Regions from separate parts of the Homo sapiens genome. Here all the other regions are linked to region 3. The links are contacts of gene promoters, found by promoter capture Hi-C in blood cells and fetal thymus (Javierre and others, 2016). All regions are on one chromosome and are shown on one strand. The core of a region is centred on a gene start or on the middle of the fragment in contact, and the rest is flanking DNA. Distances in the headings are between cores, read along the strand shown. Region 1 holds the start of HYLS1 (HYLS1 centriolar and ciliogenesis associated). Region 2 holds the start of DDX25 (DEAD-box helicase 25). Region 3 holds the start of TBRG1 (transforming growth factor beta regulator 1). Region 4 holds the start of LOC118567325 (a long non-coding RNA gene).

Evidence for each region. The method cuts DNA at HindIII sites, captures the fragments that hold promoters and counts their contacts. A CHiCAGO score of 5 or more calls a contact.
Region 1: a contact is called between the fragment with the promoter of HYLS1 here and the fragment with the promoter of TBRG1 in region 3, in 5 of 17 cell types (non-activated CD4 T cells, total B cells, fetal thymus and 2 more). The highest score is 9.4, in non-activated CD4 T cells.
Region 2: a fragment that was not itself captured here is called in contact with the fragment with the promoter of TBRG1 in region 3 in 3 of 17 cell types (activated CD4 T cells, fetal thymus and total CD8 T cells); the score reaches 6.9 in activated CD4 T cells.
Region 4: a fragment that was not itself captured here is called in contact with the fragment with the promoter of TBRG1 in region 3 in 1 of 17 cell types (fetal thymus); the score reaches 6.6 in fetal thymus.

Annotation. Positions count from the first base shown.
Region 1 is chr11:125,883,424-125,889,069 of GRCh38, forward strand. HYLS1 (HYLS1 centriolar and ciliogenesis associated) reads left to right here and starts at 4,245. Exons shown (of 3, transcript NM_001134793.2): 1 at 4,245-4,342. RefSeq lists an enhancer at 3,953-4,002 and silencers at 4,143-4,192, 4,283-4,332, 4,433-4,822. The HindIII fragment of the contact is 13,277 bases long and covers 1-5,646 here.
Region 2 is chr11:125,903,680-125,909,580 of GRCh38, forward strand. It overlaps DDX25 (DEAD-box helicase 25), which reads left to right and starts at 829. Exons shown (of 12, transcript NM_013264.5): 1 at 829-901; 2 at 1,533-1,599; 3 at 1,874-1,918; 4 at 2,395-2,530; 5 at 4,517-4,609; 6 at 4,722-4,824. The coding sequence starts at 839. The HindIII fragment of the contact is 2,119 bases long and covers 240-2,358 here.
Region 3 is chr11:124,619,622-124,624,966 of GRCh38, forward strand. It overlaps TBRG1 (transforming growth factor beta regulator 1), which reads left to right and starts at 3,243. Exons shown (of 9, transcript NM_032811.3): 1 at 3,243-3,612; 2 at 5,310-5,345. The coding sequence starts at 3,463. LOC124902779 (a long non-coding RNA gene) reads right to left here and starts at 3,580. Exons shown (of 2, transcript XR_007062932.1): 1 at 1-3,580. PANX3 (pannexin 3) reads left to right here. Exons shown (of 4, transcript NM_052959.3): 4 at 1-735. The coding sequence ends at 314. RefSeq lists an enhancer at 3,320-3,389. The HindIII fragment of the contact is 1,322 bases long and covers 3,036-4,357 here.
Region 4 is chr11:125,625,746-125,631,541 of GRCh38, forward strand. CHEK1 (checkpoint kinase 1) reads left to right here. Exons shown (of 13, transcript NM_001114122.3): 1 at 1-267; 2 at 1,004-1,088; 3 at 1,862-2,085; 4 at 3,487-3,551; 5 at 3,646-3,715. The coding sequence starts at 1,024. LOC118567325 (a long non-coding RNA gene) reads right to left here and starts at 149. Exons shown (of 1, transcript NR_170378.1): 1 at 1-149. RefSeq lists enhancers at 1-93, 910-1,453, 1,014-1,063. The HindIII fragment of the contact is 333 bases long and covers 1,102-1,434 here.

The sequences.
Region 1 (5,646 bases), core at 2,995-5,494, 1.3 Mb after region 3:
TGTTCTGCCTCCAATACTGAGAAGACTTAAACAGAGAAGAATTGAAAATATTAGCGACAGGATGTAATTAGTCAGACAAGGGAGGACTATAGTTGAAAAGTTTGTCTGAAAATGTCAACAAAGAGGTGAGGTAAGCAAAGATATCATAAAGGAGTGGTTAACTTGGCCGGGCGTGGTGGCTCACGCCTGTAATCCTCACATTTTGGGAGGGAGGCCAAGGCGGGCAGATCACCTGAGGTTAGGAGTTCAAGATCAGCCTGGCCAACATGGCGAAACCCTGTCTCTATTAAAAATACCAAAATTAGCTGGGCATGGTGGCACGCGCCTGTAATACCAGCTACTCAGGAGGCTGAGGCAGGAGAGTCACTTGAACCCGGGAGGCGGAGGCTGCAGTGAGTCGAGATCGTGCCACTGCACTCCAGCCTGGGCGACAAGAGCGAGACTCTGTCTCAAAAAAAAAAGAGTGGTTAACAAGCATGATGATACAACCAGTTGAAAGCAATATTTGAGTTCATAAAGAAGTTGATGAGTTGATAAACCAACAACACCTAATTGGGGAAAGCATAAGGAAGAGAGCTGTGTTGCAATCAAAAGGTAAGGAAGCCATATTCAACTACACTGCTTAGATGTAATCAGCAAAATCCAGATTGTGGGAGATTGTACAGGGCCAATAACCTGGTTCCTTCAACAAATAAATTGCAAGGAAAAAAATGAGGGAGAAATTTAAAGAATAAAAGAAACTTAAAGAACATATGGATTTGACATATCATGTGGATTTGACTGGATCCTGACCCAGTTAAGCAAACTTTAAAAAAAGAAAGACAAGTAGAAAATTGAACTCTGGATATCTGATGATAGTAAGAAAATATATTAACTACTTTAGGTGTGATAATAGTATTATGTTGGCCGGGCGCGGTGGCGGGTGCCTGTAGTCCCAGCACTTTGGGAGGCCGAGGTGGGCGGGTCACAAGGTCAGGAGATCGAGACCATCCTGGCTAACATGGTGAAACCCTGTCTCTACTAAAAATACAAAAAATTAGCCGGGTGCGGTGGCGGGTGCCTGTAGTCCCAGCTACTCCGGAGGCTGAGGCAGGAGAATAGCATGAACCCGGGAGGTGGAGCTTGCAGTGAGCTGAGATAGCGCCACTGCAGTCCGGCCTGGGTGAAAGAGTGAGACTCCGTCTCAAAAACAAACAAACAAACAAAAATAGTATTATGTTATGCTTTTAAAAGGTCCTTTAATTTTTCAGAGATCATACTGAAATATTTAGATTTCAGATACTCAGTATTTGCTTCAAAATAATACAAGACAAGGTATGTGGTGATATAGAAGCAACAAGACTGGTCATAAGTTAATCATTGCTGAATCTGGTATTGAGTTCACTGGGCTTCATTATGTATGGTTTTTTAACATTTGTTTGAAATTTTCCATAACAAATTTTTAAGATGAGATTTGGTTTGCAGAGTAGGATTTTTCTCTATATACTGTATTTTAAGTGGTCATGGTTAAAGTTTCTTGTTTAAGGTTTGACCGGGGTTCAGTAGATTTCTGGGAACCACAAGCATTATTAAATCAGATCTAAGAAAAATTGGAGGACTAAGCAATCCACAAAAAAACCAGGGTTGGGTAGAACACAAGATACCACTTGCAATATGAAATATTCAGGAGTAGATCCTTCAAGCTGCTATGTATTAAACGTTTTCAAAGATCAAAATTTAATAAAAAGGATAACAGAAACTAATTGGGGCTGCACACAGTGGCTCACGCTGGAAATCCCAGCACTTTGGGAGGTGGAGGCTGGCGGATCGCTTGAGGTCAGAGTTCAAGACTAGCCTGGCCAATATGATGAAACCCTGTCTCTACTAAAAATACAAAAATTAGCTGGGTGTGGTGGCACACGCCTGTAGTCCCAGCTACTCAGGAGACTGAGGCATGAAAATCATTTGAACCTGGGAGGTGGAGGTTGCAGTGAGCCAAGATCGTGCCACTGCACCCCAGCCTGGGCTACAGAGAGAGACTCTGTCTCAAAAAAAATTAAAAAAAAAAGAAAAAGAAACGAACTGGGGGATCCATAAGGAGAATGCTGATGTTCAAAGCTGGAAGAAAAATGATTCCATCTACTCTTTGGTTTCTAAGACAGATTGGAGATTCAAAGCCAAAGAAAAAGTCATGCTGGCATAAGATAAAACCTGAGCATATTAAATTTGCTCCTATGGAAAGAAAAGAATATATGCACTAAAACAAAGGTCCCCAACCCCCAGGCCACGGACAGGCACCTAGGAACCAGGCCGCAAGGCAGGGGGTAAGCCGTAGGAGCTTCATCTGTTTCTACAGCCACTCCCCATCTGGCATTACTGCCTGAGCTCTGCCTTCCGTCGCATGAACAGGGGTGTTAGAGTCTCACAAGAGCGTGAACCCTATTGTGAACTGCGCAAGCCAGGGATCTAGGTTGCATGCTCCTTATGAGAATCTAATGCCTGATGATCTGTCACTGTCTCCCATCACCCCCAGATGGGACCATCTAGTTGCAGAAAAACAAGCTCAGGGCTCCCACTGATTCTACATTACAGTGAGTTGCATAATTATTTCATTATATGTTACAATATAATAATAGAAATAAAGTGCACAATAAATGTAATGCGCTTGAATCATCCCAAAACCATACCCCCTCTCTGAGCCATGGAAAAATTGTCTTCCATGAAACCTGTCTCTAGTGCCAAAAAGGTTGGGACCGCTGCACTAAAGGAGTGTTATGATATTGCAGATGTAGGGGCAGTCACTCAAATCTCCACAACCTACTTCTGTCATCTTCCCTCCTTTGTTCTTTCCATTTTCTTCCTCCCACAAATTCAAAGTGCCTTAGAGGTAGCACAAAGGCCCTGAGGCAAAGAGGGAGAGTAAGAGATAATACGAAGTGTTTGGAGGAAAAGGATTAAACATTTCTCCCCTCCCACTGAATCCTGGATTTAAGAAATGGTGTAAGATGAACTTGACAACTAGCACCTATTTGTTTAAGGTGGAAAATGCAATGCTCAGGACTCAAGACCAGTTGAGATAGGTTTGCTTGGTATTGACTAGGATATTGAACCCTGAGGGCCTCTCCTCTTGCTTTTACAGATCTCATCCTCAGCAATCCCCAAGCACTAGATTTTTTTTTTTTTTTTTTTTTTTTTTTTTACAGGTACAGATGCAAAAAGAGTTAAAACATCGGGTTTAAAAAAAAAATTAGTGGCTGGGCACAGAGGCTCACAACTGTAATCCCAGAGCTTTGGGAGGCCGAGGGGGTAGAATCACCTGACTAACATGGTGAAACCCCATCTCTACTAAAAATACAAAATTAGCCGGGCATGGTGGTGCTCGCCCGTAATCCCAGCTGCTCGGGAGGCTGAGGCAGGAGAATCGCTTGAACCTGGGAGGCAGAGGTTACAGAGAGCTGAGATCGCGCCACTACTCTCCAGCCTGGGCAACTGGGCAACAAGAGGGAAACTCCGTCTCAAAAAAAAAAAAAAAAAAAAGTTGAGAGTAACACCATGTGAAGGAGACAGGCACATTCCAAAAGAAAACAAGTGCATGTCGGAGCAAGGCAGTCGGTGGCTGGAGCACAGTTAGAGTAACGTGGGAGGAGCTGTGGAGACGCAGCCACGGGTCACGCCAGGGCCCTGCACACCATGCAGAGGAAAGGAAGAGCTCAGTGCGCCAGGGTTTCATACAGCCGCTCTCTCAGGCCCCAAGGAAACGTCTAGAGCGCACAGGCGGACTCACCCCAGACTGTTCGAACCGTCCCTGAGCGCCCGCCCTCGTCTCCCGGCACCACTGGCCCCGCAGCAGCCAGTTGAGAAGGGCGGAGGCTGATTCCAATGAAGTGGCAGACCGTTAGGCGGCCTCTCCAAAAAGCCAGCTATGTCGCCGTTAGCCAAGGTTTGAGGGTCTTCTCCTTCTCTTCGAGGGCCCAACCTCCCCTCCAGATTTAGTACACCAGAGGCGTCGCAGCAACGGCTGCTGCCTGCGCGCCTCAGCTAGGCGGGCTCGGATATTTTTAAGGCCACATTGGAAATCCCGGGCATGCTCCCGCCGGCGGAGAAGGCCCAGACAAAATGTGCGCCAATCAGGATACAGACTTGGAGGACGTTTACCCTCAGGACCAATAAGAGGGAGGGCGGACCGGGCCAAGGGTGCCGGTTCGCTCTCCGGATTTAAACCTCAGCGGTCGGCGGTTAACCGCAGGCTCGGCGCGTGGGCCGGCAGTGCGCCTGCGCAAGTTACGCGAAAGCTAACAGAATCTGCGGTGCTCTGCTGGCGACTGGCAGGACGCGGTGCAGAGAGCGGACTTCCGCGACGCGGGTAAGCCGGGCGAAGGCCGGAAGCGGAGGGACGCGGGGACCTGGTGGCTGCCGGCCCACTGCGGCGGGAGCCCTCGCTCCTTTTCCCACCGTCGGGACGGTGCAGAGTGGCAGCTTCCCTCCGTGGATTCCAGGTCCTGCCTGGCGAGCCGTCCCCAACGTCTGCGTTCCTGAGGGAGGCGGCCGGGGCAGCGTGAGCTACAGGCGATGTGCGCGGCGGGCCGCAGCCCCTGGAGGTCACGGTGTGCGCTGGCCGCCGCCGCGGTCTTTGCCCCGGTGGCCTTTCTGAGCTCCTGGGCCGCGCCCCTGGGACCAGGCGGAGGCCGGGGACGGCCCCAGGGCTGGAGGGGAGTCCCGAAGGCCGCTAGCGACCTGGGTCCAAGCCACGCCCACGGCCAGGCGGGGCGACTGCGAGCTTTGCCGTTGAAAGGCGGAGCGTGTCTTGTCGCCTTCTAGCTGCACCTTTTGTGGACTGCAGCATGGAACCGTCCAAGGTGTTTGTCCACCCCGAAATGGAAATAAATCTTTTTTATTCTAAACAGTATACAATCTCACTAAGCAGGCAAAGAAAAACATTAAGATATCTTTTTAGATTGGTAAGATTTTTCAGTACCCCATGCTGCTGAGAGAGTGAAGAAATGAAAGCAAGCACCTTTATGGCCTGTGTGCTGGGGATAATCTGTTTTTCTAGAGGGCAGTTTGGCATTATAAATCAGAATTCAGGCCGGGCGCGGTGGCTCACGCCTGTTACCCCAGCACTTTGGGAGGCCGAGGTGGGCGGATCACGTGAGGTCAGGAGTTCGAGACCAGCCCGACCAATACGGTGAAACCCCGTCTCTACTAAAAATACAAAAATTGGCCGGGCTTGGTGGCGGGCGCCTGTAGTCCCAGCTCCTCGGGAGGCCGAGACAGGAGAATCTCTTGAACCCGGGAGGGAGAGGTTGCAGTGAGCCGAGATCGCGCCACTGCACTCCAGCCTGGGCGACCGAGCAAGACTCTTGTCTCAAAAAAAAAAAAAAAAAAGAGAAAAGAAAAACATAAATCAGAATTCAAGTAGTACCATAACTTCTAAGTCATAATCCAATTCCAGGAGTTTATTCCAAGGACATAAATCGGACAAGAATGCAAACATAGTATGTACATGTTTTTAGCAATCCGAGCAACATTTAGTACGTGTAAAGAAGAAAGAAAATACTCGAAATTTCATCAGTCACAGATAACCATCAAACACTGTTCACATTTAGGTTTACTTCAGATATATTCATAATATATACCTTATATTTATGTGATTTCCTTATAAAATGT
Region 2 (5,901 bases), core at 49-2,548, 1.3 Mb after region 3:
TGGGTTTTTGTATTTTTGCCCCCAATTCCAGAAATGCTGATCAAAATCTCAAAATTACAATTAGAAAACTGGGGGGCGGGGGGGAGGTGGAATTTGGTTCTTTCGTCCAAATTGAGCGGTCATTAAATCATTAGTACCAGGGATCCAGGGATCTATACCGGATTATGCAAACGCATGTAGGACGTAGAGGTTATACCGAAAGGTAATGTTTTTAACAAGAGACCACATTTCAGAATAAAAGCTTTAAAAAGCCTATGTGGAACATCACAGGTATCTAGGGCAGGAACAGCAGTTAGAGCTTGAACAGTTCTGCTTCCTTTCCGCAACTGTGGCATTCGAGGTCATTCGTCATATCAAATTCATCAGATTTTGTCTCCACTTTGCTAACCAATTCGCTAACCTTTCTGACATCTTGTGATGTGGAGGCGGAAATTTCCAGGGAAACCGACACGGGGCGTAAAGCGCGGCGGGGAGTCCGGGGGGCTCCCGCCTGGAGGGCTGTGTGAGCGGCGGGCCGCGGGGCGGCGCGGGGGGCGCTCTCCACTCTGCGGAAGCTGCCCCCTCTGCCCTCCGGTCCGCGCCCTTTCGCCCCGCTCTCTGCCCTCCGCCCCGCTCTCTGCCCTCCGCCCCGCTCTCTGCCCCCCGCCCCGCTCTCTGCCCTCCGCCCCTTCCGCGCGCCACCCAGCCTTCCAGCGCCTGCGCGCCGCACCGCGGTGGTCGCGGGCGCGGACGCGGACGCCTGCCCCCTAAGGAAGCCCATTGGCCAGCGGATGGGGCCAGCACCGCCTCGCGCCGGTGGTGGAAGCACGTGCTGGGGGCGGGAGCAGCAATCGCAGCCATGGCGTCGTTACTGTGGGGAGGCGACGCAGGGGCGGCGGAGAGCGAGCGGCTGAACAGCCACGTAACCGCCACCGAGCCGGGGGGCCACAGCCGCGGGGGTGGAGCTCCCACTCGCAGAGGGAGATCGGCTGGGAGGGGAGGGAGAGCCCGCGAGCGTTCGAAGTGGGGCGTCAGATGCTGGAGGGGAGATGCGGGAAGGGTTTGGAAGAGGGCCACAGAGGGAGACCCCGTCCCCACCCCCACGAGAGGCAAGACCTTTGGTTAGAAAGGGCAAAAATGACGACCCCTGGAAATCCAGGGTGGGAACGCAGCTGGTAGTCCCAGCTAGACCCCGAGTTTTCTACTCTGCCCATTTGCCCATTAAGCCTCACCTCGCTTCCATCCATTTGCCAGCGCACTTTCCTAGCCACCCTCCCCTTGTTGGTGCCGTGAGCCCCAAGTACTGCCCAACTCTAAACTAGAGGCCTAGGAAAGAGAAACTGCATGTACAGGGAATACAGAAAATCTCCAATTTTAGGGTAACTCATACAGGAAACCCAACCTTGAAAGGAATCTGCTGCTACCTAATATTGCAAAGGAAGCAATACCCGGGTGTCCTTCCCTGAATCCCTCCCAGCCCCTGTGGTAGGGAAGCACTGGGCTGCTTGAGGGCTTGCATCCTAATATTGGTTGAAATTTGTGTCTCTCAATAGTTTTCAAACCTCAGCCAACCCCGGAAGAACCTTTGGGGTATTAAGAGTACTGCAGTCCGAAACATAGGTGAGTGCTGTTAGGGCAAAGCAGAGCGACCTCAATGATTAAAAAGTATTGTTTTGCTTTCATCACGTCCCTGCCAAGTGAAACACCGCGGATTCATTAGTGTGACATTCAGCACTCTCCATTACCTTCCCAATCGTTTCGTCCATTCCTCCATGAAATGACTCTTCTTGCCAGTAGACACTGAAGAGTCAGGAAGAAAAAATTGAATAGCATGCTTTACATTTGTGCTCAGCATTTGTCTTTACTTGTATTGTTTCTCTTCCATCCTTTCCAGATGGTTCTATTAATAACATCAATGAAGATGATGAAGAAGATGTAGGTAGGAGATGAATTCATTTGCATGTATCTACTAGCATTCTGTTTCCGTTTATAACTTTAATAGTGTGAGTGAATAATATAATCTCAATTGGAAAAGGCCTGTCTTTGCTTCTGTTTTCTTATAGTGACTATCAGGAGACACACTAAATTAGGAGTAAGGTGTATTTATTTAAAGGAAGTTGAAATGGAATATGCAGGGATTGGGTTCAGAACTTCCATCTGTCAAGGATTTGGTCTCATGGAGATGGACTTAGGCTACTTTGAAGTTAGAGGATGGTGAAGTAACAGAGCGTAAGAAACTGAATCCTCATAAAGAACGAATCCTCAGTGCTATATCATTCTTTCTGGAACCCTCTTTTAGAGGAAAAATGAGCGTAGGTGCAATTGCTTGGTATACAACCACTGAAAGAGAAAGAGCAACTTATTTGATGTCATTCAGGAAGCTTGATGTCCTCTTTTTTATTTTTGCTTTTCTAGTGGATTTGGCAGCTAATTCACTCTTAAACAAGTTAATCCATCAATCCTTAGTAGAATCCAGTCACCGTGTGGAAGTTTTACAGAAGGATCCCAGCTCTCCACTTTACTCAGTAAAGACATTTGAAGAGCTGCGGCTGTGAGTATTTTTACTCTTTTAATATGGGAAAAATGCTGAAAACCACAGAACAAACGCATCTGCTTATAGTAAAAACCATCAGGATCTCCTCTTTGTTTTCTGATATTCAATATTTTTTTTTGTTATTTGAGACAGAGTCTCACTCTGTCCCCCAGGCTGGAGTGCAGTGATACGATCTCGGCTCACTGCTCTACCTTACAGGTTCAAGCGATTCTCCTGCCTCAGCCTCCCGAGTAGCTGGGACTACAGGCATGCACCACCACGCCCAGTTAATTTTTAATATTCAGTATTAAAGTGAGATTTGTACATTTTCCATGCAATCAAAATATAGCTCAGGCCAGGCACAGTGGCTCATTCCTATAATCCCAACACTTGGGAGCTGAGGAGGGCAGATCGCCCGAGGGTCAGGAGCTTGAGACCAGCCTGGCCGACATGGGAAAACCCCCTCTCCACTAAAAATACAAAAAGTAGCCGGGCATGGTGGCGCGCACCTGTAATCCCAGCTATTCGGGAGGCTGAGGTAGGAGAATCGCCTGAACCCAGGAGGCAGAGGTTGCAGTGAGCCGAGACACCATTGCACTCCAAGCCTGGGTGACAGAGTGAGACTCCGTCTCAAAAAAAAAAAAAAAAAGGATATTCTAAAGAAGAACATTAGGATACTCAAGTTGCCTGGCAAATTGAGAACATTTTTGATAGTAAGATATTTTCATCCTGCAGTGCTCAGGGGGATAGATAGCTAAGCTAGGCACAGCCAGATTGCCCCTCTCCATATCAGAACCCAGATTCTGATGACCCAGACATCCTCCTTCACCCACTATAGATAAGTCACAAACTTTTACTTTCCTGATTATATTTTGTTTCAAATGATATTAAACTGAATAACTTTCCCAAATGGGTTTGCATTCCCTAGGGATTTATCATTTGACGCTAAAAAATGTATTTTTACAGAACGAGAAAAGCACTGAAACCTACTTATGTAAAGGGTAAAAATCCAAAATCCTAGTTCCCAGACATTTTCTAAATGGTAGAAGAAGCCTACCCATGATTTAAGATGGGCTACCAGTCCTCTACCAATTAAGCACACACAAATGTGCATGTCATTAAAAGTTGAAGTGTTGGCCGGGCGCGGTGGCTCACGCCTGTAATCCCAGCACTTTGGGAGGCCAAGGGGGGCGGATCACGAGGTCAGGAGATCGAGACCATCCTGGCTAACACAGTGAAACCCCGTCTCTACTAAAAATACAAAAAATTAGCCAGGTGTGGTGGCGGGCGCCTGTAGTCCTAGCTACTCGGGAGGCTGAGGCAGGAGAATGGCGTGAACCCGGGAGGTGGAGCTTGCAGTGAGCTGAGGTCGCGCCACTGCACTCCAGCCTGGGCGACAGAGCAAGACTCCGTCTCAAAAAAAAAAAAGTTGAAGTGTTGTAGTCCACTTGATTTATCCTCATTCTGGCATTTTTCTTAAGACCCTCAGGAAAGCTGCATTTTAAAATATTGCCTCAGAAGGATGGAGTAATATTGTGTCTTCTACTCCTAGAAAGAACTAATATAAGAATCACCTAAATAAAAATTTGTCTTCTCTGAAAATTACTGTTAAAAATGTCAATATCGTTCGTGAAAAGGAACAAAACAGTAAATGTCACTTAGTTTTCTGCTTAGGCAGAAAATATAACTCTCTTGGCAAGCAGATATATTCTTTTTATGCGATGAGTTTTTCCATTTTTGCTTTGTTCAACAGAAGGTTTGACTTAAGGCCTTTACCACTGTCCTTCGCCTAGGCTTATGGCGTAGCTTATTATTTTAGTGGTCCAGCTCTACAGGCATGATTGTTTATGTTTGGAAGTTGAGGTATGAATGATCTATCTCCAAATACTAGTTTTAAAGCTCAGCTGCAAAGTGACTTAATTTAGAAATGCACCTTTCAGGTATGTATTTCTGATGCTACTGACCAACTATAATCTGTAAGTGTTTGATTTTTTTTTTTGACAGAAAGGAAGAGTTACTAAAAGGAATCTATGCAATGGGATTTAATAGGCCATCTAAAATCCAAGAGATGGCTCTCCCTATGATGCTGGCACATCCGTGAGTTTCCAGGGTAGTGGTATTCTACTTGGTTATGTTTAGTTTCTTATTTTCAGTTTATGCCCACTCTCTTGTATTCAGTTTATGCCCAGTGGTCTTCTCTTTTCTACAGACCCCAGAACCTCATAGCACAGAGCCAGTCTGGAACAGGAAAGACAGCGGCATTTGTGTTGGCAATGTTAAGCAGAGTTAATGCCTTGGAATTGTTCCCACAGGTAAGGGAAGGCTGAGAGAAGACTGGGAATGCTTGCACTACCAGTGCTAATTTAGTAATAGGTGATATTCCTGTGCAATGATATGGTTACTATGGTGATGAAATATTTAGAAAAGACATGTTTTCATAAAATCATAGAGCATTGGGTAGCAGCATGGGACAGTGATGGAGAGGACAGGCTTTATAGTCTTGAGTGGTTTCAATGCTAGCCTCCCACTTACTAACTGAATGTCTTAGGCAAGTTAATAAATCTGAGTCTGTTAATCCTTGTCTGTAAAGATAGCATCTGTAAAGGAATGTATCATAGTTGATCTGTTCACCCTTAAATCCTAATACCTAGCACAGTGCCTGGCTTGTAGAAACCACTCATTAAACATTGAATAAAGTCATCATGTGGATTTAATGAAGTAATTTACGTTTTTAGCACAGTGCCTGGCATAAATTAAGCATGCAATAATTATAGCCATCTAACTGCAGGACCAGAAGGTCAGGTAGTCCACCTCACTCTAGCAGAGGAGGAGGCTGATGCTTGGAGAGGGAAGTGTCTTTCTTGAGGTCCCCAGAGAGTGGCTGAGTCAAGACTGGCACTGGTACCCGGTTTACCATTCTCCTAGTGTAGTTTCCACTCATGAAAAGTATCTGGTCGTCTCTCCCTATTTGCTTGACAAGCTGAGTACCCATATGCATTAAGTGCTGTGGGGAATACCAAGGCTCTCTCAGTAAGCTTCCACTCTGATCAGCCAGGTCAGCTATAGGTAAGGCATAGGAAATCTTACGCATTTTAGACAAGTTCAGTGAAATTTATGTTTAGGGTTTGATATTATCAATAAAAATTATGTAGGATAAGTTATGTTGGAGCACATTTTGAAAAATGTGTGGGAAAGATATTTTTAGCCCTTTGGCTATGTTTCCCTATCACAGATTCCTAATTGACACATATAAGTGCATTAGATATTACCGTTTTTTTCCATCAGCATCTTTATTCATCAGCAACCACCATTTTTATGGAGTATGGAATAACAGAGTTTGGGGGAATATTCTGCCTATTATGTATTATATTATGTTATATATATCATAT
Region 3 (5,345 bases), core at 1,993-4,492:
ACAACCTCACACGGCTATGTCGGTGGGACAAACGACTTTTATCTGTCTATGAGATGCTCCCAGCTTTTGATCTCCTCAGCAGAAAGATGCTAGGATGTCCCATCAATGACCTCAATGTGATCCTTCTTTTCCTCCGAGCTAACATCTCTGAGCTCATCTCTTTTAGCTGGCTGAGTGTCTTATGTGTGTTGAAGGATACAACCACCCAGAAGCACAATATTGACACAGTAGTTGATTTTATGACTTTATTGGCTGGCTTAGAACCCTCAAAACCCAAACACCTCACCAACTCGGCATGTGATGAACACCCATAGTTAAGAAACCATGGAGCAAGAAAGCTTGTGGAAAGTCTCTCTCCTTCCTCATAAGACATGCACACTAATACACATACACACCAAAAAATTACACATTTTAAAACTGCTAAGCTTGGATTTAACTGAATCATATATCTTTTATCATGTTATCCTAAAAGTGAGAAGACATAACCAAGACATGGAAATAAATGTGAAAGCTGGAGCCGAAGAGTCAAAGAGCTAAAAAATTAAGTCTAGAACATTCTATGAGGATAGTATAAATAAAAAGAAATACAGTCTAGACATGCTGCAAGGAAAGAAGATTCTAAAGTCCGTTTATGGAGGCAATTCCATATCCTTTCTTGAACGCACATTCAGCTTACCCCAGAGAGCAAGTGAGGCAATCTGGCAAAAGATTAATAAAGATGTAAACCCCTGGAAACCCTTTGGTGTGGCCTGAAATCCTAGGAATTTACCCAGCTTGCTTTGTAGAAGTTATCAACCTTGTCCAAGTCCTCTGTAGCCTCCAAAGTGCTGGGAGATGATGGCTTCAATTTGTAATCTGCTCTTAGGATGTAAGGACATAGTAGAACAAGGCTGGGGCCATGTCTCAGCCGTGAGTGGAGCCTTCAGGTGCCCAGATACACTTTTCACCATCTAAACCAGGAACTCATTTCACCAGGGGCTGGGATTATGGGCTATGGACTTCTTCACAACTGTTAACGGAGCCAGGTATGCTTTTAATACTCCAGAGGATACTATGCCTTCCCTTACAGCTAATCACTGAATAGCAAGCACTTACAAATGGGTAGACAGTAAAGTGCTATTGAACTTCTTTCTCTTCTGATTTATTACCCTATTTTAGCTTCTAACTCCCATTCCTATGCCTGTAGTTAATGGAACTTTGGTCTGACTTCAAAGACCACACTCAGACACAATATCATGCTGTCTGCCATTTTATATTTCTTTTTAGAGCTACACATTATGCATTTCTTTAAAGAATTTTTGCATAGGCCATTTAGACCCTTCTTCGTATAGTTAAGTAGAAAAGTTGTGTTGCTTCTGACAGATTCAGGTAAGTTTACCTAACACAAGCAAAGAGCTGATAGATGGTTTCCTATTGTCACTGGGTCAAAGTCCAACTCTTCAGTTGGTACACAAGACTTTTCATGACCCAAAAAACCCTACTTACTGCTTCAGTCTCTCTTCTTGCTTCTCTCTACACACATCTTTCACACTGATCAACTACTTGCAGTTCCCATACTGAGCCTTTGCATATGCTGTCTCCACCATCCAGCATGCCCCCCTTTGTTCTTCACTGGGCCAACCAACCACTACCTCTCCTTCAGAGTCTGCCCAGATGTATCTCCTTTAAGAAACCTTTCCTATCTCCTCCCTCCTTCCCTGAGTGCTGCCAAATAAAATAAAACCTACCTCTGAAACAAACTTATTATACCATATTAACATTGCCAATTTACTTGTCTGTCTTTCCTTCTTAAATTAAGGTTCTTAAAGGTGGTATCATAATAGGCACTAGGTAAATATTCTTCTAAACAAATAAGGACTGAATGAGTTGCTCAGTGGCATGACCTTTGTGGAGCACACATATCCAGCCTCTGAACAGTCCTATATGGAAAAAGCTTTGGACGCAAAGATATGCTTTTAATGGAATTGACCAAAAAGTCAAAGAACATGGAAATAATTATGCAAAATATAATATAGCCATAACTGGAATATTAACCAGCCACTTAAAATTATGCTTATAAGGAAGCTATACTAACATTTGTGAAACTGAAATGATACAATGGTAAATGAACAAAAAGAAAACTTTATTTTCAGTATTGTCTAACCTATACAAAAATGCATAAAATATTAGACACATATACTAACATGGTAAAAGTAGTTCATTCCAAGTGGTAGCATTATGGATTTTTAAACCTTTCTTGTACTATATTTTCTAAATTTCTAAAGTTCGAATGAAATGTTTTGTAAGTGTAAGGAAATGTGTCCAATGAAGAAGAAACAAAAAATATCTTCATGCAAATCCCACTAAAGTCCATTGGCCAAAACAGCCTGCAAACTAGGACAAAGGATAGCACTTTTCTTCCCCCTAGATGTGATACATGTATATGAAAATAAATAATACAAATAAAGTCAGACCCCAAAGCCCGCAAGGACAAAATACAGCAGAACAGCAAATTTTTTTTTTGAGAGAAAAAACTAGAGAGTTACTGAACTAGTTATTGGCATCGCTGGAAGAAGATGCAAGCAAGCCTTCTGCCATCCAGCCTGGGTCACTTACCAATACCGCACCCTAAAGATTTTTCTATCTTCCCTAATTTTAAATAGACCTTGGTTGTAAAGTTAGAACCATATACATGTACATATTATGTACAGAAATACACTTCTGGTTTCACTAGACAAACATTTACTGAGTGCCTACTTAGTGCTAGTATTAAAACTGCGTGTTAAATCTCTCATCTTCCCTACTAGAAAGAGCCAAGGCCTTTCTTCCTGTTCACTACTGTGTTCCCAGCTCCTGGGAAGATGATAGCATTAGGAGGCCCTGCAAACACATTTCTGTGAGCTGCAGAAAGGAACGAAGCAGGGAAAGAAGCAGAGTCCCAGCACTTGGGCTCACTTTGTCCTACAGTCTGGGAAAGCCTGTCTGCACGAAGCATGAAAAACGTATTAAAACGCAGTGGCCCAGCGGGGGAGCGTGAATGAGAGCTCGCATTGGTAAGCTTCTTGTTAGTTCGTTGGTTCAACTATAGTACCCTTCAGCTAAGCACACGGCCGCCGGCCCTCCCTCCTCTCCTCATCCAGCACTAGCCCCCAGCTGTCTCTTTCCTCCCGGTGCCCACGATCGCACCGCCCAGACCACCCTACTCTCCCTGCCCCGGAAGTTACACACTGCCGACACCGGGACGTAACTTCCGGGAAGGGCTTACTTCCAAGACAGACACGGAAGTGCTGGGAGGCGCCGGGAGCCCGTTCGGTTGCGGGTGTCTCTGGCCCTGCGGTCAGCCCTGGGAACGTCCCGGAGAGCTAGATTCCTAGAGGCCCGATTCCGCTAGCCCGGAACAGACAAAGCCAGCGCTCCCGCCCGCTCCCCGACTTAGGATCCGATGCCGGCAGCGTCCTGGGGCCCCCGTAGCGGGGCTGGACCATGAGCCTGCTGGACGGCCTCGCTTCCTCGCCGCGGGCTCCGCTGCAGTCCAGCAAGGCCAGGATGAAAAAGCTCCCGAAGAAGAGCCAGAATGAGAAGTACCGGCTGAAGTACCTGCGGCTGCGCAAAGCGGCCAAGGCCACGGTGTTTGTGAGTCTGACCCACGTTCAGCCGGTCCCCTCCTGGAGACTCCCTCACAAAATCTTTCCCCAAGCTGTTCCCCCTTCCCAGTGTGACAGTATTAATACAGTGTTGGCTTTTCCGTATACGTTACTACTTGTTAGCCTTGTGTCCTTGGACAAATTACGTAATTTCTCTGTGTCCTCATCTGTAAATGAGCTAGTAACTGTCTTGCAGAATAATGAATATTAAATGAGTAAAGAAAAGTGCTTGGTGCGTAAAAGACATACCAATAAATTTTAGTCATCGTTGTTACTGCAGGACTCTAGGAAATGTGTTTGATTCTCGAGATACAGCCCTGAGAATTAGGCATTATTTGTAAAATGAGAACACTGAAGCCCAGAGAGATGATTTGCCCAAGGGTACTGTGTCAGAGCCCTGACTCCAACTTAGATAAACCTGATTCCGTTTTATGACTTCCAGTACACAGACTATTTTCTGAGCACCTCAAATCCCCATAACTGACCCTTTGCCCAAAGAGGTACATGAAACTGTCAGTAATTTCCCCCCTCTAACCTTTGAGTGTTCCAAGTGTTTCTTCCTTTCTTTTATTGTAGAAGCACTGGATTTATTGAGTGAATAAACTTAATATAGCTTGCCAGCCATAACTTTATATTAGAATAGTTTGGCTTGCCTCAGTGCTTGGAAATAGGGGTGGAGTCCTCAAATGTCCCCCCACATCCAAGTCAACAGTTCATCTCTTCTCTCTACCAAAAGCTTGAACGTCTCTCAGCATTTTTGGAAGCATAAGGAAAGGTTCAGAAATTAGAATACACATTCCAAAAGCACTTATTCAGCACTTGCTATGTGTATTGCTTGCTATTTGCACTGGAGAGAAACAAGAAAAGTAAAACTAAGAGAACTTAGCATCTGATTGACTGTTCCCTTTCTTTTATCCCCTATACGTCAAAGGTACCTAAAGCTTGGAATTTATGTTATTTCAAGGATATTGGTTCCATCAAATACATAATGAAGATTTTGTGAAGAAAAAGCGATGTTGTTTTGAACATTGAGAGTTTGAAGTTCCACCTATGGGGGCATTCAGATTCAGCATTCCCTTCAGGATTGGTGCTTGGGAGATAGATTGAGTCATCATTTACAAAAAAAAAAAAAAAAAAAAGAAAAAAGATAATACTTGAATTCGTATAAGTAGATTGTGAAGTTTAAGAATTTTACACACTAAATTTGATTTTGTTCTGTCCAGTTTTTCTCTATTTGGGTTAGACTGGCTTTGTAAGTTTTTCAAGAGTTGAGGCACTTGGGAATAGACAGTTTTCATATTTATAGTATTTAATTTAAGCATATAAGGATTTAAGCAGTATGCCTTTTTCTTTGCCAAAGGCTATACTAATTAGGGTGACCATTAATCTTGGCTTGCCCAGGACAGTCCTGGTTCACCGTATTGTTCTGGCATAAGCATTAATAGTACCCCCTTTTCACTCAAAGATGTCCCGGATTGGATAATAAATTACATAGCTATACCCTGTCCATAGTAGAACCTGACTACCTTTATCTATGGATTTATTTATAGTTTGTCACACGGTCGAATAGCTCCTTCTTCTCAGTAATACAAGCTTTTTTGGTTTGAAATATGGATCCTCTTCCCAGCATAATAATGTGATTTTTTTATTCATTTTATGTTATTATATTCACATTTTTACTTAAAGGAAAATGCTGCTATTTGTGATGAAATTGCTCGTCTT
Region 4 (5,796 bases), core at 18-2,517, 1.0 Mb after region 3:
GCTCAATTCGCGCCGATGCGGTCCGCCGTCCTTAAATCTCTTCAGCCAGGATCTCTCCCCGACTGCAAAGCAGCCCTGGGCGGGAGCGGCAACATCTCCACGTCACCCTTTTGGAGCCGCCGACATTCAGAGGGGCAGGACACGGGAACGCGCGCTGTCTTGCTTTACGGCGCGGGTGCGCGAGTTTGCGGCAGCGTGACGCCCTCAAGTTTTGGCGGGAAAAGCGCTGCATTTGGATTCCTGCAGTGGTGGGCAAAGGACAGTCCGGTGAGGAAGGGCGGCCGGTAGAGTAGGGAAGGTTTCTAAAGAAGGAGTTCGGGGTCTAGATTAGTGAGGGAGGGCATGGTGGGAGAAAGTTAGCATTGACTAGCGCAGGGGATTGGAGAGACTCCTGCGGAGGGGCGGTTTCGGAGGGTGGAGGAATGGTACCAGGAGGTTCCCGTTGTGGGGGCGGGGGCAGGAGGGACTAACCCGCTGCTAGCTAAGAACCCCAAGGAAGAGTCCCAGCCCTTCCTTTCGCCTCTGGGGGCAGTTTGGCCCCGCCCCGGCCTTTGGGACGGGTGGGGCTGTGGATGGGGATGGGAATTGGAATTGAGCAATTGGGAGGAGGCGCTGCCGCAGGCGTTTTCTGCCCCATACCGCTCCCTATATCCTCTTCCTCTCTTCCCCAGACCCCCACCTCTCCCTCCTCCTTCCCCAGTCGTTCGCCGGAAAGCATTTGTCTCCCACCTCTTCATAACAACAATTAATTTCCTCTGGGGCCTGAGGAGGGCAGAATTTCAACCTTCGGTGTGCTTGGGAGTGGCGATTGTGATTTACACGACAAAATGGTCAGGTTTAGAATAGTTGTTCGTGGTTGAAAGACTTGGATAAATGTGGATGAGATAGAAGGGGAAGGCAAGAGCTGTTAATTTTCGTGGGCAATCCTGGGGAGAGGCGGGGCTCAGTGGCTTCACTGGTGATCTTACACTCTACATCTTTTCTGGATTCCTGCCTTTTACAGCCGAGGTGCTCGGTGGAGTCATGGCAGTGCCCTTTGTGGAAGACTGGGACTTGGTGCAAACCCTGGGAGAAGGTGCCTATGGAGAGTGAGTTCTTTTAAGCTTGCCTTCGTTTTCTGAGTGCATATTCATTGTTTTGGAGTCTCACACTCTGGTGATTTAGAAAGTAGATGTTTGAGATCCAAGGGTTTTGGCAACTGAAGTTACACAGCCTTTTGCTAGGATTAAAAATTTTTTCCTTCCCTTTAAAAAAAAAAGTTTTCTTTGTAGAGAGCTGGAAGGGACACGAAGTTATTGTTTCCATGCCCACAAATTGCTTCTCAGGGTTTAAGCATTGCGGTTAATGAGCAAATGAGCAGACTCTGGAGATTGCCTGCCTGGTTTCAGATCCTTGCTCTATCACATACTGGTCATTGTTTTGTGATCTTAGGCAAGCTTCTTAATGTCATTGTGTACCTCTCCTTCACTACCTTTAGGGTGGCAATAATCGCATCTACCCCATAGGAGCTTAGGACAGTCAGTTACACAAGCACATATAGTATGGGATTAATGCTCTTAAAAGTATATGAGTAGAACATGTATATATGTGATGTGGCTTAGAATTATCTCAATCTATTTTATGAAGCGTTTATTAAATGACTTGTGTGACAGCATAATGACGTCTTTGGAGGGTTAGCTATTGTATTTCACATTTTAGAAAAGAGTAGTGTGTGTTGAGAACATAGCAGAAACCACTTCCTTGGTTTCTCCTTTGTGGAAAAAGTAATAGAGGTAAAATCGTTTTGGATGAGTCATGTTTAATCTTTGGAAGTTTTAGAAGAAATGGAATTCTGTAATGTTAAAACTCTTTTCCTTTTTAGAGTTCAACTTGCTGTGAATAGAGTAACTGAAGAAGCAGTCGCAGTGAAGATTGTAGATATGAAGCGTGCCGTAGACTGTCCAGAAAATATTAAGAAAGAGATCTGTATCAATAAAATGCTAAATCATGAAAATGTAGTAAAATTCTATGGTCACAGGAGAGAAGGCAATATCCAATATTTATTTCTGGAGTACTGTAGTGGAGGAGAGCTTTTTGACAGAATAGGTATGGAAGAAATTTAAGATAATTATTTTAAACAAGTTTTTAAATTTGTTTTTTAAATCTTGGGCATGCTATTTGGTCGTTGTCCTTTCAAAATTGCTCATGCAACTGTGAAATTGGAATACATTATCTTTAAAAAATTTTTCCACCTGGTGTTAATAACATAAAAGCATATATAGAGTCAATGAAAGAAAACTTCTTTCCCAAGTTATATAAGTGATTTTGATTTAAGATTGGTGTCTTACAGAATTTAAGAGTGACAAACAAGTTTTATGGTACATCATAAATGCAGTGTATCCTAAATGCAATGTATTGCCTACACAATTTTTTCTTTGTAGACATTCTAGTTACATGAAATCATTGTATACATTTTATACATTTACAGATCTAAAATAGCATGCTGTTTCCTCTTGGTTTACATGAAATAATTGAGAATTTTCTAGGATTGCTTTTTGTATATTAAGTAAATTCTATGTTTGCTATTAATACTTAAATATTCGATGTAGAATCAAAGGATTGATATTTCAGAACACTGAGAAGTACATAAAATCTGGATCTAAATTTATAATTTAAATTTATAATTTAAAGCTATTGTATTAAATAAGTTTATCAGTTAAAAACTGATAAAGAGGTATTAGGATCTCCAGTGTGACTCAGGAGAGAGTTGAGGGTAAAAGAAATGGAGTTAATGAGAGAGATCAAAATATAAAAAGATAACTGATAAAAGAACTTTCATAATAAAACTGTTTCACGAAGGACCTCACAGGCATTTGTGGTTTTGTACTGTGAGACTATATGAAGTTTAAATCTGAGCCAGGTGTGGTGGTACATGCCTGCAATCCTAGCTACTTAGGAGGCAGGAGGATTGCTTGAGCTCAAGAGTTCCAGGTTACAGTAAGTTATGATCTCACGCCAGGGCACTCCAGCCTGGGTGAAAGAACAAGACCGTATCTCTAAAAAAAGTTAAATTATAAAAGAAGTATAATCTGTAAAATATTTAGTGAAATTGGCTTAGATTTGCCCAGACTTCCCCTTTGGCATTATATTTCAGGAATGAGAAAAATAATTAGCATAGCATTTAGAAGAAATGGGGGGAATTTCAAGGTTACTAAATAAATCAGGGTTAGTATAAGAGGAAGCAGAGGCTTTGAAGTCATGGCTTGCATTCTTGATTTGGATATTGGTTTTCTCTTTATAATTTTTCTGTGATGACGCCTTTTGCCACCTAACACAGGTAAATGTGAGTTAAGCCCCATATGTGTTAGTGGACTCCTGAATCTTTTGTTGGCATTTGCTTCTGTTTGCCTAAGCACATTTGTAAATGTCTAAGCTTCAAATTAAGAAGCTATGTGGTTGCTACCTGATTATATTTAGTCAATAAACTTACTTTCATATTTGTTTTAGAGCCAGACATAGGCATGCCTGAACCAGATGCTCAGAGATTCTTCCATCAACTCATGGCAGGGGTGGTAGGTATAGTTGTCTATTTCCCTTTTACTTAAAATTAGAGTGAATACATTACATTACCAAATTCTAGTGTGTTTCTCTCTGCATCCCTCTTAGGTTTATCTGCATGGTATTGGAATAACTCACAGGGATATTAAACCAGAAAATCTTCTGTTGGATGAAAGGGGTAAGTTTAGCATTTTATCACTACCTAAAATAAAATAAAATAATTACCTAAATTATTTTAATTACCTAATTATTTTAATATAGCCATACAAGGCAAAATCAAGTCTTTTTGCATTACTGGAATTTCAAGACAAGATCTGAAAAATCAAGGAAATTTTGGAGACTTCGTATATTTGGAAATCACAAGTCTCATTTTGCAATACAAGTGCGGATCAGGTAGAGAAATCTGACCTAGGTGCAAGCCTAGCTCACTATATGTATAAGAATAATTTTTTTTTTTTTGATACAGGCTCACTGTGTTGTCCAGTCTGGGGTGCACTGTATTATCACAGTTCACTGCAGCCTTGACCTCCTAGGCTCAAGCAATCCTACCATCTCAGCTTCCCGAGTAGCTAGGACCAACCACAGGCAGGTGCCACCATGCCTGGCTAATTTTTGATTTTTTGAAGAGGTGGAGTCTTCCTGTGTTGCTCAGGCTAGTCTTGAACTCCTGGACTCAAGCAGTTTACCAGCCTTAGCCTCCCAGAGTGTTGGGATTATAGACGTGAGCCACCATGCCTGGCCAAGAATAGTTTAAAATAATCCTTTAATGGATTAATAAAGGGAAGTTCCTGTGGAATACCCTGGACCTTAGTCTTGTCCTGTTCACTCTTTTTTTATGTATGACGTGGATAAAAATGTAAGAAATTTAGTTATATTTTCTGAATGTCATCAAATTGAGAAGGATGGATAGCGAAAGCTTTAAGCTTACAGGGTCAGAATCAAAAAAGAAATGTCAGCTGTATGAGGCAGTAGTTTTTGTCTGGTTTAATGCTTTATTCTTAGTATTAGAATAGTGCTTAACAAATGGTCAGCTTTTTTTTTTTTTTGAAACAGAGTCTTGCTGTGTTGCCCAGGCTGGAGTGTAGTGACATGATCTCGGCTCACTGTAACCTCTACCTCTCTGGTTCAGGTGATTCTTGTGCCTTAGGCCCCTGAGTAGCTGGGATTACAAGCCTGAGTCACCACACCTGGCTCATTTTTATATTTTTAGTAGAGATGGGGTTTTGTCATATTGGCCAGGCTGGTCTCGAGCTCCTGGCCTCAAGTGATCTGCCTCCCTTGGCCTCCCAGAGTGCTGGGATTATAGGTGTGAGCCGCTGTACCCAGCCTATACATGCTTTTTTCTTATGTGCATATGGATTTTACTTTTTACCCCTTTAAACTGAGTTTATATGACATAAAAATCTTTATTTTTATTTAAAACTTTAAAAATTCAGGTACACAAAAATTCTTATGTATTATAATGAAATGTAAATATATGTATATCAACCCACCTGGTTTAAAAATACAACATTATTCGTATATAAGAATGCTCACAGTGGTGATGTTTTTAATATAGCAGGAAACTAACCCAAATGTCTGTCAACAATAAATTATGAAATGCATGGCTTTTCAAGCCATGTCACAAGCAGTGACACAAGCATGTCACAAGCAGTGACATGGATGAATTTCAGGTATATAATGATGTAGAGCAAAAAGAGACAGTTGCAAAAGAATTCATATGGTCTGATTCTGTTTATACAAAGTTCAAAAATATGTAAAACCTAGTATATTGTTCAAGTATGTAAACATGGAGAAAAAAACATGCAGAAAAGCAAGGGTATAATAAAACCAAATTCAGAATGGTCTAAGAAAGTAGGGGAGGGAATGTATTTAAGGAAGTATTTAAAGATTTCAAAGGAAATAGAGCATTGTTTTTCTAAAGTGAGTGGGTGTTTATTACATTGTTATTCTTTATATCTTGTATTAATATACAAGATATAATTCTTTGTTTCTATTTAATATTTAGGAGTCTTTTAAAAAAAGAAATAAAATGTTACCAGTATTTAATGTCCTCCTGTTTATTTCATCACAAATATATTCTTCCTTTGTTTTTCTAAGAGCTAAACACATTCCTACATTTAAATTTTATTATGTGCAGTTCTCTAACATAGCTGAGTATTATGTTGCAGACATAACAAAGTCCAAGGAATACTATAGTTATCCATTAGTATTTTAAGTGATTACTACTCATAAGTAATTTGAAACTCAATCTCAGTG